Linked DNA regions of Homo sapiens: all the other regions are linked to region 3. Evidence: promoter capture Hi-C in 16 types of primary human blood cells and fetal thymus (Javierre and others, 2016). All regions are on one chromosome and are shown on one strand. Each heading gives the region's core, a stretch centred on a gene start or on the middle of the fragment in contact. The rest is flanking DNA. Distances are from core to core; before and after follow the strand shown. Region 1 overlaps NT5DC1 (5'-nucleotidase domain containing 1). Region 2 overlaps FRK (fyn related Src family tyrosine kinase). Region 3 holds the start of CALHM6 (calcium homeostasis modulator family member 6).

Region 1 (4,264 bases), core at 1,186-3,685, 360 kb before region 3:
TGGTTATGAGTACAGTGGTGAAAGCGAGGACTCCTCAGCCAGACTGCCTAGCTTAGGACACCAGCTCCACTGTTACTAGCTCTGTGACTTCGAGGAAGTTACTTAACCTGTGCTGCTTCTCAGTTTCCCCATCTGTAAAATGGAGCTAATAATTGGATTTACCTCACAAGATTGTTGCAAGGATTAAATGAGTAAGAGATGTATAATGCTTAGAATAGTACCTTGGCAAAGACAAGTGTTTGCTTTTATGGTTACCACCCAAACTATTTGGAAACCTCACAGTTTATGGGTAGAACTCTAGATCACTGGTGCAGACATCAGCCAGGGTTGTGCCCCATTATGGGCACCCGCCAGTTCCTGCACCCACCAGTTCAGGTACACGTTAAAGGTCAAAAAAGAGTGGCTGCCCGAATTTCTCGTGTGTTTTCTATGCCCAGATGCTAAATTTTTTTTTAAATGTCCTTTTTCTGCTGTTACACTTTCCTGCTTTCTTACCTTACAGGTCTGGTTTCCTTAGTCACATTGAGAATTAAGAAGGCTTTTTTACTGCTTGATTCTTTGGCCACTGCTTCCCCTAGGTCTTTGATACATGTTTTCCTTCCCTCTGTGTCTTTCGAATCCTTCCTGGTTCACAGTTTTGTGTGTCTCCTCTTTAGTTACCTTCATTTGGAGGTAATATTGTTAAACCACTGTCATGTTAGAGCTAGTGTTGTCCATAGGTGATCATAAAATTTCAGAATATAAGATTCTCAAAGACAAGAGGTTTTTTTACTGCAAACCTGGAGAATAAGTGATGTTTAAAGCTTGAAAACAGTAACCTATTGAGTTTTGGATCATGTTTGGTGTGGAAATCTTTTTTATTTTAAGTCCCACAGTGTGCTGAGCACCATGCTAGAGCTGAGGATACAGAGATCAACACGCAGGCCTCCAGGCAGCCTTACACAGTAGGCAAAAATGCTGAAGAGTTAGTCTTGGTCCCTTGTGGTGGGTAGTATGACCTGGGTCTTGCTTCACGCTGCCAACAGTGCCTGGAGGGCCTCTTTGCTCTGCACAGAAGCTCTTCATCCCATCAGGCCTCATCTTAAACATCGTTCCCCTTAGGAAGTCTTTTTGGCCCTTAAAGTTTGCCCTTCCATTCTAAGCCCACCTTCAGTTTTCCACAAAACCCTTCATTCCTCATAGCACATGCTGCATGATATTAACACTTCCTGTTTACTTGTTGGACTTCCCCTAGAGCCCAGCGTGATGACTCCATCAGTATCTGTGACAGTTTCTTGTGTGTTCTGTGTGCCGAGCTTAGTGCTGGGCACATACTGGACTCAATAAATAGACTGAATAGATAATAGGTATTTTAATAACAGAATATGATACAGCCATGATTCTAATAAGCATGCTGCTTATATGAATGGATTTAATCCTTACAACGTCCCTGTGAGGTAGATATTATCACCACTGTTTAATCACTTAACAGTGATTTAGTCACTGTTAAGAGAGCATCAAGCAACGGGGCACAGAAGGAAAGTGTATCCAGGGCAACTAAGCGAGGTAGTCCGGCTGTGGATTTCTGCTTCTTCCCACCTTGCTGTCTGTATGGTGCCCGAAAACACAGAGGAAAGGCCGGGAGCTGGCAGGTGAGGAGGTGGAGAGGAGTGCTTCACCCAGAGGAGTTAGAGTAAAGGTCAGAACCTCGAGGTGAGCAACAGCACCGGGAACTGCTGGGTGCAAGCAAAAGGTGGCAAGTTGCAGGAGAAGATGGTGGAGAAGTCAGTGGGGGCTGCATCATGGAGAGCTGTGAGTGCGTCTCCTTTCAGTTTTGTAGGCATTTAACAACTGCACAGAGTTGTGCAAACACAGAACTGAGTGTGTCCCCCTCACATGAGGCCTCAGGAAAGGCATTCTAGAAGAGAGGATGACACATGGTTTCTCCTCTCTAAGGTTGCAGACTCAGAAGTCTGATACCAGTCAGTTAACGTAGATGTGTGAGTGGGAGAGTGGGGTCCCAAATATTGCATGCTTATACTAAAAAAAAATTATTTGTTTTTTATTTGAAAGTCACATTTACCTAGGCATTTTTAAATTTTATCTGGCAACCTTAAGTGGGAACCAAACATAATTTGTAGGCTGCATATGGACCACAGGGTACCAATTGGCAACTGCAGTAGAACGTGTATTATTATTACTCCTGAGAGACTGTGAGGTGGTGATAGCTAAGGCTGGGGGAGGAATGTCATGGAGAGCCCTGTGCCATGAAGGCTTCTAGAGAGACTCAGCGTACTCTAAGGACAAACTGCAAGAAGCCTTCTGCCTAGACCAGGGGTTTCAGAGTACAGATGCCCCTGCTTTTCTTCACACTGCTTTTCTCTGCTTCTTTTCCTTGTCCATTGGCCCCCTTCTCTCCTGTTACAGAAAAATCTCCTCCACAAGGTAAGGAACACAGCTGTTGCTGTCCCTGTTGGCGTCTCTGATGGAAAGGGCTCCTTTCTTCCAGGAGAATTCAAGTGTTTTAGAATTACATGCCCATATCTTAGACTAATCACTTGAATAACTGGAGAAACTCAAAAGTGCCTCAATGAGAGGCAAATCTAAGGTGTACAATAGCTGGCTCTTAGGGGCTTGTGAAAGCCAATTGTTAACTATTCAGGAATTGTGCAAGCAGGTAAACTGCTGTTGGTGACTTGAAACAGGCCATGGTGGGAATATTTACACCGTGGAGATGGGCAAGCGCTACCTGTCAGGGCAGTGTTTTTGTTTTCTGTTTTTTTGTTTTGTTTTGTTTTGTTTTTAGCAGCATACAACATAATAATAGCAAATACTTAAATTGGATTTGCTGGTGTGCCAGGCTCTGCTCTAAGCATTTTACATCTGTTAGCCCTGCAGCACTGGTTTCTTATAAGCAGGATCGTGATGTGGACTTTTTATTGTCCATAGTACTTTGTACCACAGGGTGACTCAGTGTATTTTTTGTTGCTTTTTTCCTTTTAATGATTGAATAAAAATCTGTAAAACATGCAGGTCAGTGATTTTCAGTGTTCTCTGTGCTTCAGAGAGGGCCCTCTCTACCCTGTATGCTTGGAAGCTCTGGGTAGTTTTAAGAAGTGTCACCTATGGTTCTGAATCACCACCAGGGTTAAGAACTGTTGATATATAGTGTTAACATAATGTGGTTCAATTAACAGTTGACCTGGATAAGGTCACATTGCACTGGATGGAAGTACATGTGTAGTGATTTTAATTAGCTTTATGACAGGGAGCAACTCGATTTGACATTTCACAAGGAGCCTTTGCTTTCTCCATGCTCATATCCTGACACTCAGACCCCGACACCCCTACTCCAGCTGTGTGCAGGCCCCTCAGTTTCTGAACCTGAGTTGCCCCCCATTCCCTCTGCATTCACCCAGCGAACTGCTGCATCTAAGTATCAGTGTAAACCTCACTACCCAGGAGAGATTTCCCCTGCTCCTCTGCCTCCCTCTTCTCCCTAAAAGTATGACATGTTATCGAAACCTGTTGTGGGTTAATATCTGTAGAAGAAGGGTCAGATTGTTCAGTGTGTCCTTTTGGACACTGTGCAGGTTGACTCAGACAACTGTTCTGCTCAGGCTCAAGTTTACCCAACACTGGCCAAAGAACACTTCGAGGTAGAATAAGGTTGGACCATCTACCTTTTGTGCACTTTTTGTTTGGTATGTACAGTTCTTTTAAAGTTAGCCAGCACTTAAAAACCAGATATTTTACTCAAAAACCTAGCATTTTTTGTTGTTGAGAAATAAGATCTGTCAGCAATCAACAGAGTATTTATTATTGTAATTATTGTACTTGCTTCCAGAGGCTTTCTTTGTCCTTTGTCTTTAGATTTTTTTTTTTTAATGGTTTTTGTGTATGTGTGTGTGGAGAAACAAGAGTGATTACCTGTATCTGATAGAGGCATCATGACTTGTTTAGATCACCTTCCTGGTCCCCATATGTATTTCCCTGACATGGGGCCTTTCTGGCCAGAATGGACCAAGGATGGATGGATAGAGTGGTCATCATCTTTATCATCTTAGTGATGTATTAAATAAGTTTAAAAAGCTTTGTCAAGTCTTAAATTATGATCTCCAACCCATTAGAATTCAGGAGTAGGGTTAATAATTGTCTTTGGTTGTATAATTGTATGCTGACGGTATAATTTTGAATGGGACAGCTACCTGGGGCATGCAGGGGATGATAAATTGCTTGTGAAGGAGAATTATACTGCAGAACTTCACAATTACAGATATTTCCT
Region 2 (4,185 bases), core at 1,554-4,053, 440 kb before region 3:
ATGAGGGAAAAAATGTGACTTGTTCTTTAAAAATTGTTTCACAAACAAATATGAGATGGAGATGTGGAGGGTGAAAGCAAAGAGGAATTCTTCCATGACTAGAAACAAAAAAGAGACTTGGTCCAAACTTTAGAGGTGAAAAGAAATTTTCATAAGGATCTACAGGCAAAGGTGTTTTAATGAGTACATGCATTTTTTTCCGGGGAGATAATCCATTGTTTTATTAAATTCTCAGAAATGCCTGTGAAAGAAACTAACCAACTCTTTCAATAAGGCCAAGTGTTTCTTCTGTATTTACACGAGCTGGTGCCAAGGCCACAACCACAACCTACCACCTTGAAAATCACTTATTCATTTTTTATTCAAAATTTACTTATTGATATGGTTTGGCTCTGTGTCCCCACCCAAATCTCTCTCTAATTATAATCCCCATGTGTTGGGGAAGGGACCTGGTGGGAGATGACTGGATCATGAGGGTGTTTCTTCCCATGCCGTTCTCATGGTAGTGAGTTCTCACAAGAGCTGATGGTTTAAAAGTGGCAGTTTCTCTGAACTCTCTCTCTCCTGCCACCATGTAAGATGTGCCTTGCTTCCCCTTCCACCATGATTGTAAGTTTCCCGAGTCTTCCCCAGCCATCCAGAACTGTGAGACAATTAAACCTCTTTTCTTCATAAATTATCCAGTCTCAGGTAATATCTTTATAGCTGTGTGAGAACGGACTAATACAGAAAATTGATAGCAGTAGAGTGGGGCACTGCTATAAAGAAAAACTGAAAATGTGGAAGCAACTTTGGAACTAGGTAACAGGCAGATGTTGGACAGTTTGGAGGGCTCAGAAGAAGACAGGAATATGTAGGAAAGTTTGGAACTTCCTAGACACTTGTTGAACAGTTTTGATCAAAATGCTGATAGTAATATGGACAATGAATTCCAGGCTCAGTTGGTCTCAGATAGAAATGAGGAAGTTATTGGGAACTGGAGTAAAGGTCACTCATGCTATGCTTTGGCAAAGAGACTGGTGGCATTTTGTCCCTGCCCTAGTGATCTGTGGAATTGTGAACTTGACAGAGATGATTTAGGGTATCTAGCAGAAGAGATTTCTAAGCAGTGAAGCATCCAAGATGTGACCTGGCTGATTCTGAAAGCAGTCAGTCATATGCATTCACCAAGAGATTATCTGAAACTGGAACTTTTATTTATCAGGGAAGCAGAGCATAAAAGTTTGGAAAATTTGCAGCCTGATCATGTGGTAGAAAAGAAAAGCCCATTTTCTGGGGAGCAATTCAACCCAGTTGCAGAAATTTGCTTAAGTGACCAGGGGCCAAATGTTAATAGCCAAGACAATGAAGAAAATGTCTCCAAGGCATGCCAGAGATCTTCATGGCAGCCCCTCCCATCACAGGTCCAGAGGCCTAAAAGAGAAAAATGGTCTCATGGGCTGGGTACAGGGTCCTGCTGCTCTGTGCACCTTCTGGACTTGGTGCCCTATGTCTCAGCTGCTCCAGCTCCAGCTGTGGCTAAAGGAGGCCAAAGTACAGCAGAGCACAATCTCTATAGTAGGTTGACTATAGTTAACATTAATCTACTGTTCCTTATTTGAATGTTCCTAGCATGAAGAAAAGAGAAATAGTTAAGGTAATGGATATTCCAATTCAGATTATATTAATGTATCAAATTATCACATGTACCCAGAGAATATGTACATCTTTTATGTACCAATAAAAAATAATTTTAAAAACTATACTGTCTAATCTTAATCCATACATGACACAGAGACACACACACATATATGTGAATGAGTGGATGGATGTGTGTGTGTGTTTGTGTGTGTGTGTGTAGCTGCAGATACCAACATGGATGTACAGATATGTACTAGTTTTACTGCTTTGGGGGGATTAAAATGAAGCAGGTGCCCCCAGGGAGTCAAGGTGTGAGACCTGGTCTGCTACAGGTCAGAACAAGCACACACGTTCTCTTTCTTTCTTCCTTCATTCTTTCTTTCTTTCTTTCTTTTTAATAATTTAGCCCTGTATACCCAGATACTCACTAAGCATTACTATCATGAATAATTACCAATAATAACACCAATGTTAATAACTAAAGATAGTTTAAAACCCATGTAAATGCCACCCACTGGACTTTGAAATAGTAGAAACTGAACACATCCACAGAGCAGCTTGTTCTCAAAAAGAAAGCCTGAAACAGTGCCAGAAAACACATCTTTTGTTTTCAGTGTCAACAAACTATTTGTCAGGAAACAAAAGGAAGGCTCTGCCTGCACTGATGGACTTTTCTGAAATCTGAAAATTAGTTTACTGCTTGCTCCTGCTTAGAATTACAGAAAGAAGCAGTTGCACAAATACATTACAAGCTTACTCCTCAGAACTGTTGTGGAAAAAGGCAGACTGAGAGAAGAAAGAGCCCCCACCTCCCTACCTCCCAACACACACCCGTGTTACTGTTAAATCAAGCAGAAAGCTGTCTCCTTACACGTTTTAAGTTCAGCCTAAAGGTTTCTCTGTACACAGTGAACTGCAACCTAAATGGATGTGCAAACAGACTGTAACCTACTCTTGTGCCAATCACCAAGTTTTGAGCAACCAAAGGTGGCCAACTGTTCAAACCCTGTTCAAAATAAGGCAAACACCGAGCTGTAACCAATCCAGCTGTTTCTGTACCTCTTTTCAATTTTTCTACATCGCTTTTCTTTTTCTCTCCATAAGTCCCTTTCCACCAGCTGGACTCTGTCTGAGCACACTCTGGCTCAGGAGACTGCCTGATTTGCCAACAGTTCTTTGCCCAGTTAAACTCTGCTAAGTTTAATTTGTCGAGGTTTTTCTTTTATCACTACCTAAGGATTAACCTTCTCTAGGGCCTCAGTTCTCAAACTCCAGTTTCTGAAGACTGTCCCAGGAAGTGTGTACAAGGCAAATAGTCTAAGAAGGTCGGAGGTAGAGCTCAGGATGCTGTAGGTTCCCAAGTGCCACAGGCAATTCAGAGGCAGGTAACCAAGGTACTACAATTTGAAAAACACAGCTGTTTCTAGAAGAGGGGGACTTTCTCTTAACATCTTCTCCTAAATCCTGAGTCATCCTGCCATAGCCCACCTTGCACCTTTTTCTCTCCAGTCCACTCTGCCTCACACTGCCTCACACTGGACCCCACTTCTTTATTTTCAACCCTTACAAAACATTACAAATTCAATCCAAATGCTGTATAAAATTTGTGAAGAGCAAAGCTTTAAGTACAATACAGAGCAGAAAACAAGTTCAAACAGATACCAGAAATTTCTGTTCATTGAAATTTAATGTCCTTTCTGCTGAAGAGGGAATTTCCCAAAACTTTTTCCCTTATGTCTAGGGCCCCCTAATAGGTTGCTGAGGAACCACTCCTCTTCCTCCTTTCTCTGTGCCAGGGATTTTACAACAAAATTCTCCATGTTTCTGTATGCAAAGCAGTTTGATTTCCTACCCAACCCTTACTCCAAACTAGATTCTGGGTCTCCCTCTGTATACCCCAGCACTTCTTAAATTGTTCTGCTCAATTAAGGCCCATCTATTCCATGTCTTTATTCTCAGCAGCACAAACAGCCAGAGCTTTGAAAACAGAATTTTCTTTAGCACATCAAATCCTTAGGCAAAGCTCTTCTCACACCATTATCCATAGCAGATGGTAGCAACAGAATTATGCATCCTCTCGCTGTCCAGAACAAGCCTATACCCTGGGGTAAGGGTGAAAGGCAGAGTCCTTCCAGTTATATTTGTGTTTTAAATAATTCAGTTTATTAAAATTATAAGTGTCTTGAAGTAGACTAAAATGTTTGCTCTCTTACAAAGTGTTTTCATAAGAGGATATACTCTAATAATACACAATGGAAATATTATTTGTAAATAGCATGTAAACTATTTATATACAAATATGTGTTTTGAGAAACTGAAATATTCCCTGCCTCAATGACTGCCTTACTAGTAAGCATATTGCAATTAAATAAAATTTTATTCCAGAATTTTAGTGATACAAAGACATTTCCACCATGCTCTTTGCCTGGGATAATTTTTTTTTAATCATTGAAATACTCAGAGCATAATAAAATCTGACCTGTTCACTGTGACCCAGGAAAGGATTTTAAAATCTTATAGATTTGAAGAGACCTGCTGTTGGAAAGAGGGCACAGTAAAGGAACA
Region 3 (4,263 bases), core at 1,764-4,263:
CCTTCTCATTCTGGATGCCTGCTATCCCTGCCAGACCCCTGGCCATCCCTGCAGCCAGGCCCCCGGATCCCATGCCGCCCCAGAAGCTGGTGGAGCGGGACACAGAGATCCGGGAACCAGAGTCCTGGGTGCCTGCATAGACACTGGCTGCACTGCTGACCAGCTGGGCGATGAAGCTGGGTGTCTGGACAGAGCCCAGGGAATGGTAGTTGGTGGAGAAGGTGGAGCAAGTGGTGAAGCTCATACTGTCCAGGGAGGAGAGCAAGAGGACAGGACTCAGGCTTTACCGATGACATTCTACTACTCATTTCTTAACAGCTGAAGCAAATCACAGGCTTTCAAAAGTGTAAAGACATTTAAAATATTATTTAGTCTACCTCTCCACACCATTAGGGTGTTAGTCAATTTCCACTAAGGGCTGAACTTCTGAGCAATATCCTCTCAGAACAGACCTGGGTATGGAGGGCTGGGAATCTTCAATAGACCCAGAGCTAGAACCAGTCAATCCAGTGGTGGTGGGAGTGGATGGCAGGGTACTAGACTCAAGACCAAGTGCTGGGGAAACATTCAGGCTGGCAGGCAAAACCTGGACTCTCAATTATAGAAACCTGTACTAAGTTCTGAATGATCATTGCATCTGGGAGAGTTGGGTTTGGGAGAGCACAGAAGTAGCAAACCCAGGAGGTGGTGTTTAGAGACACAAGCTGACAAGACAATATGTCAGGATGCAGCTCAGTCTGTGAAAGTTTCAGAGGCAGAATTGCAGACTACATATTCTGGTCTGTGAAGCACCTAAACCTGACCTTCCACTTGCAGCTTTGGCCTCATGATGTGCCAACTTGCCTGTCATTCTCAATGCTCCCATCACTCTAGCCTTCTTTCTAACCAAGCTCCTTTGTACTCCAGACTCATTCAGATTAAATGTCAGTTTCTCACAGAGGCTCTTTCAGGACACTCTCTAACTCCAATTTATCCTGTGCGTAATCTTTAGGACCCCTCCTCTCCATTTCCTATATCATCTCTACTGTAAGTTCAAAGACGGCAGGATACCTGTGTCTTCTTCCTTGTTGTATCCAGCAATACCAGGCACTTTTGATAGGTACTTGACATATTCTGAGTACTTATTAAACATTTAAATGAATGACTGAATGAACAAATGAACTAATTAATAACTGGTTAACAAATGAATTAATCTAGTTGGGGAAGGGGGCTGATAGATAAAAGTTTCTGTAAGTAAACATATTTCAAACAAATCCTTGACTAAATAACAGAAGCCAGGGAAGAGAAGGTGATGGACTTCATTAGAGTCTTAAAAAATGAAGGGAATGAAAACAGACCATAGGAATGAGGTGAAGGAGGAGATGGTGCTGATTAGATTGAGCCTCAGTGGATGATAAACTATTATAGCACAGTGGTAAAACCCTGGTATGGCTATCAGCAGGTAACCAGGAAAATGCCAGCCATCCCTCTTGGTTTGAGAGATGTGGGAGAATAAATTAATCTCACTCAAGAAGACAGAAGGATGCATTTTTATTAGGTTTCGGTTAGGGGAGATTTGGATAAAGCCATCTGCACAAAGGTTGTGGATATAGTGATGTTTCTGCATGATGGAATATGGGAAAGGGTGGACGAGAGAGGACACATCTTAGAGTATTATGGTAGAGGTGAAGAAGAGTCCAGCAGTAAGAGGAGAGTTACTCAAGGCACAGGGGAAGAAATTTATCTTGGGAGATGACAAATTACAAAGATAACAGTCAGAGCAGAAGTGATTCGCTTCAAACACGCAACTTTGCTGCAAGTTGACAGGAAGCCTAGCAGTATCTGGTCTAATCTCAGAGAAGAGGGCCCCAACTTTCCTGCATGACCATGAAGACCCTCATCTGGGGCTGGCCCCTAAACACATAGAAAAAAGATGTCTATTTACCACATCACTATGGAATGACAGCTTTTGGCACTACGCTAGGCACCCTGCTGGTGGTGTTGGAGAGGGAGTAGTTAAGAAGGCAAGTTGGACTAAGAAAAGAATAATACATTTCTTGTCCATTCTCTAAAAATTCACTTGGTTCCATGGGCTACCTATTCTTTCCAGATAAAATAAGGCAAGCCTGGTGGATGGGCACCAATAAGAACCATTTCATTGTGAACTGCCCACCCAAGCTCCATATCCAGATACTCTCCTTGTGGTGAAGCAGACAGCTAAGGTGTACACCAATTCTCTTAAGGTAGCAGAGTCATTGAGTCACTTAATACTATCCACTGAATTGATCCTCGTTTAAAATTCAAAATTCAGTATTCATCAAGATTCTTAGGTTATGTACAATGTAATTATTTGTTGTCTATTCCCCAAATTGCATTTTAAGGGGAAAACTCTCACACTGATCATTCATTTAACAGACATATCCTATATGTAAAGGCACTTTACATATGCTACTCAATCTACTCATGTCAGTAATCTTGAAAAGTGGGCACTATTATCCTTCTTTTACAAATAAGGATGCTGTGTCTCAGAGGGGCATACTTGTTAAACACACCACAGACAAGATGCACTTGACTTCAAAGCCCATGTTCTTTCAAGCACACCTCAGCTCAGTCTGGAGTCACACAGAGTAAGGCTCAATATCACAAAAGTGGTTACAGTGTTTGTGTCAGAACAACGCTGCTTGAGAAAACTGAAGGTGGAGGAAACAACATTAGATAGATGTAGCTGCAGTTTGAAATTTTGGGTTCAACTAGCATTCTTTGAATAATCATGTATCCCCTTCTGTGCAGATCAGCTTGGTGGTCAGAGTCAGAATTTTACTCTCCTCCAGGCATTGACAGTGTTATGACATATCTGAAAGAAAAGAACATTGTATTGACGAGTAAATCAATACAGTATATTTGGTCTAATGTCCTGAAGGAGATCAGGCAGAGGAGAGAAGAGTCAGTGTGAACTAGGCTGGTGGCTCTGTCCGGTAGGGAGATGGAAAGGGTGCCGCCCATCATAGAAGTACCAGAACTTGAGCTGGACTTTGCTGATTTAGCTTATGGAAGAGGAACCAGAAATTTGTCCTTGAATAATGTTTCCCGTAAGTAATCAGTTTTTTGATAATTATTTGGTTTTACTGTGATCTGGCTTAGTAACTAGGGTGGCTGCAATAGAGGAAAATCTGGTATTTCCCAGTTTTTCCAACTGGCGGCCGTGGGTCAAGAAGGTTAGTTTCCTGGTTCGTTGTCAGATTGGTGGTAATAAAGGAACAAGGTCAACCTTCTGTCAGAGTTCCTGAATTGGGGGAGGAAGATAACTGGTGCCTCTGCCTTTGGAATGGGGTGGGTGCCAGAGAAGTCAAGGTCCTGGGGGTGTTTGCTTGCCTGGTTCTGTTAACCAGAGGTGGTGTGGCTGAAATGAGAAAGTGAAACTTTAGGAAGGTCTGAGAAGCCCTCTTCCCTTTAAAAAAAAAAAAAAAAAGGCTGCTTCTCGCAGAGTGGAAAGCCCCGGTCCCCATCCCACCAAAACCATTTGACAAGCAGGACAACGAAGAGGCAGAAGGATCTGGGCCTGTGCGCGACGCCCCGGGGGACGAGGCTCATGGAGAAGTTTCGGGCGGTGCTGGACCTGCACGTCAAGCACCACAGCGCCTTGGGCTACGGCCTGGTGACCCTGCTGACGGCGGGCGGGGAGCGCATCTTCTCCGCCGTGGCATTCCAGTGCCCGTGCAGCGCCGCCTGGAACCTGCCCTACGGCCTGGTCTTCTTGCTGGTGCCGGCGCTCGCGCTCTTCCTCCTGGGCTACGTGCTGAGCGCACGCACGTGGCGCCTGCTCACCGGATGCTGCTCCAGCGCCCGCGCGAGTTGCGGATCGGCGCTGCGCGGCTCCCTGGTGTGCACGCAAATCAGCGCGGCCGCCGCGCTCGCGCCCCTCACCTGGGTGGCCGTGGCGCTGCTCGGGGGCGCCTTTTACGAGTGCGCGGCCACCGGGAGCGCGGCCTTCGCGCAGCGCCTGTGCCTCGGCCGCAACCGCAGCTGCGCCGCGGAGCTGCCGCTGGTGCCGTGCAACCAGGCCAAGGCGTCGGACGTGCAGGACCTCCTGAAGGATCTGAAGGCTCAGTCGCAGGTCTGCCGCTGGCGCTGGGGGCGTTTGGGAGGAGCCGAGAGGCCGAGCTTTCTCAGGGCCGCTGGGGTGAGGGAAAAATCGGTGACTTTTCTCCAGATATACAGTACCCTAAGAAAATCTAGAATGGCTCCTTGCATCTAATTTGCCGTCAAGAGAATATCTGAATAAAA

The links. The method cuts DNA at HindIII sites, captures the fragments that hold promoters and counts their contacts. A CHiCAGO score of 5 or more calls a contact.
Region 1: a contact is called between a fragment that was not itself captured here and the fragment with the promoter of CALHM6 in region 3, in 1 of 17 cell types (monocytes). The highest score is 5.6, in monocytes.
Region 2: a fragment that was not itself captured here is called in contact with the fragment with the promoter of CALHM6 in region 3 in 1 of 17 cell types (total B cells); the score reaches 5.2 in total B cells.

What each region holds. Positions count from the first base shown.
Region 1 is chr6:116,101,872-116,106,135 of GRCh38, forward strand. All of the region lies in intron 1 of NT5DC1 (5'-nucleotidase domain containing 1), which reads left to right. Among named protein-coding and RNA genes, the nearest start is that of NT5DC1, 3.2 kb to the left of the region's middle. RefSeq lists an enhancer at 1,155-1,224. The HindIII fragment of the contact is 3,268 bases long and covers 802-4,069 here.
Region 2 is chr6:116,014,737-116,018,921 of GRCh38, forward strand. The region is part of intron 1 of FRK (fyn related Src family tyrosine kinase); the gene reads right to left. Among named protein-coding and RNA genes, the nearest start is that of FRK, 44 kb to the right of the region's middle. The HindIII fragment of the contact is 867 bases long and covers 2,371-3,237 here.
Region 3 is chr6:116,458,362-116,462,624 of GRCh38, forward strand. CALHM6 (calcium homeostasis modulator family member 6) reads left to right here and starts at 3,014. Exons shown (of 3, transcript NM_001010919.3): 1 at 3,014-3,068; 2 at 3,511-4,093. The coding sequence starts at 3,569. It overlaps CALHM6-AS1 (CALHM6 antisense RNA 1), which reads right to left. Exons shown (of 2, transcript NR_174951.1): 2 at 2,117-2,833. It also overlaps the pseudogene KRT18P22. RefSeq lists enhancers at 3,420-3,529, 3,540-3,619 and a silencer at 4,000-4,079. The HindIII fragment of the contact is 9,761 bases long and covers 1-4,263 here.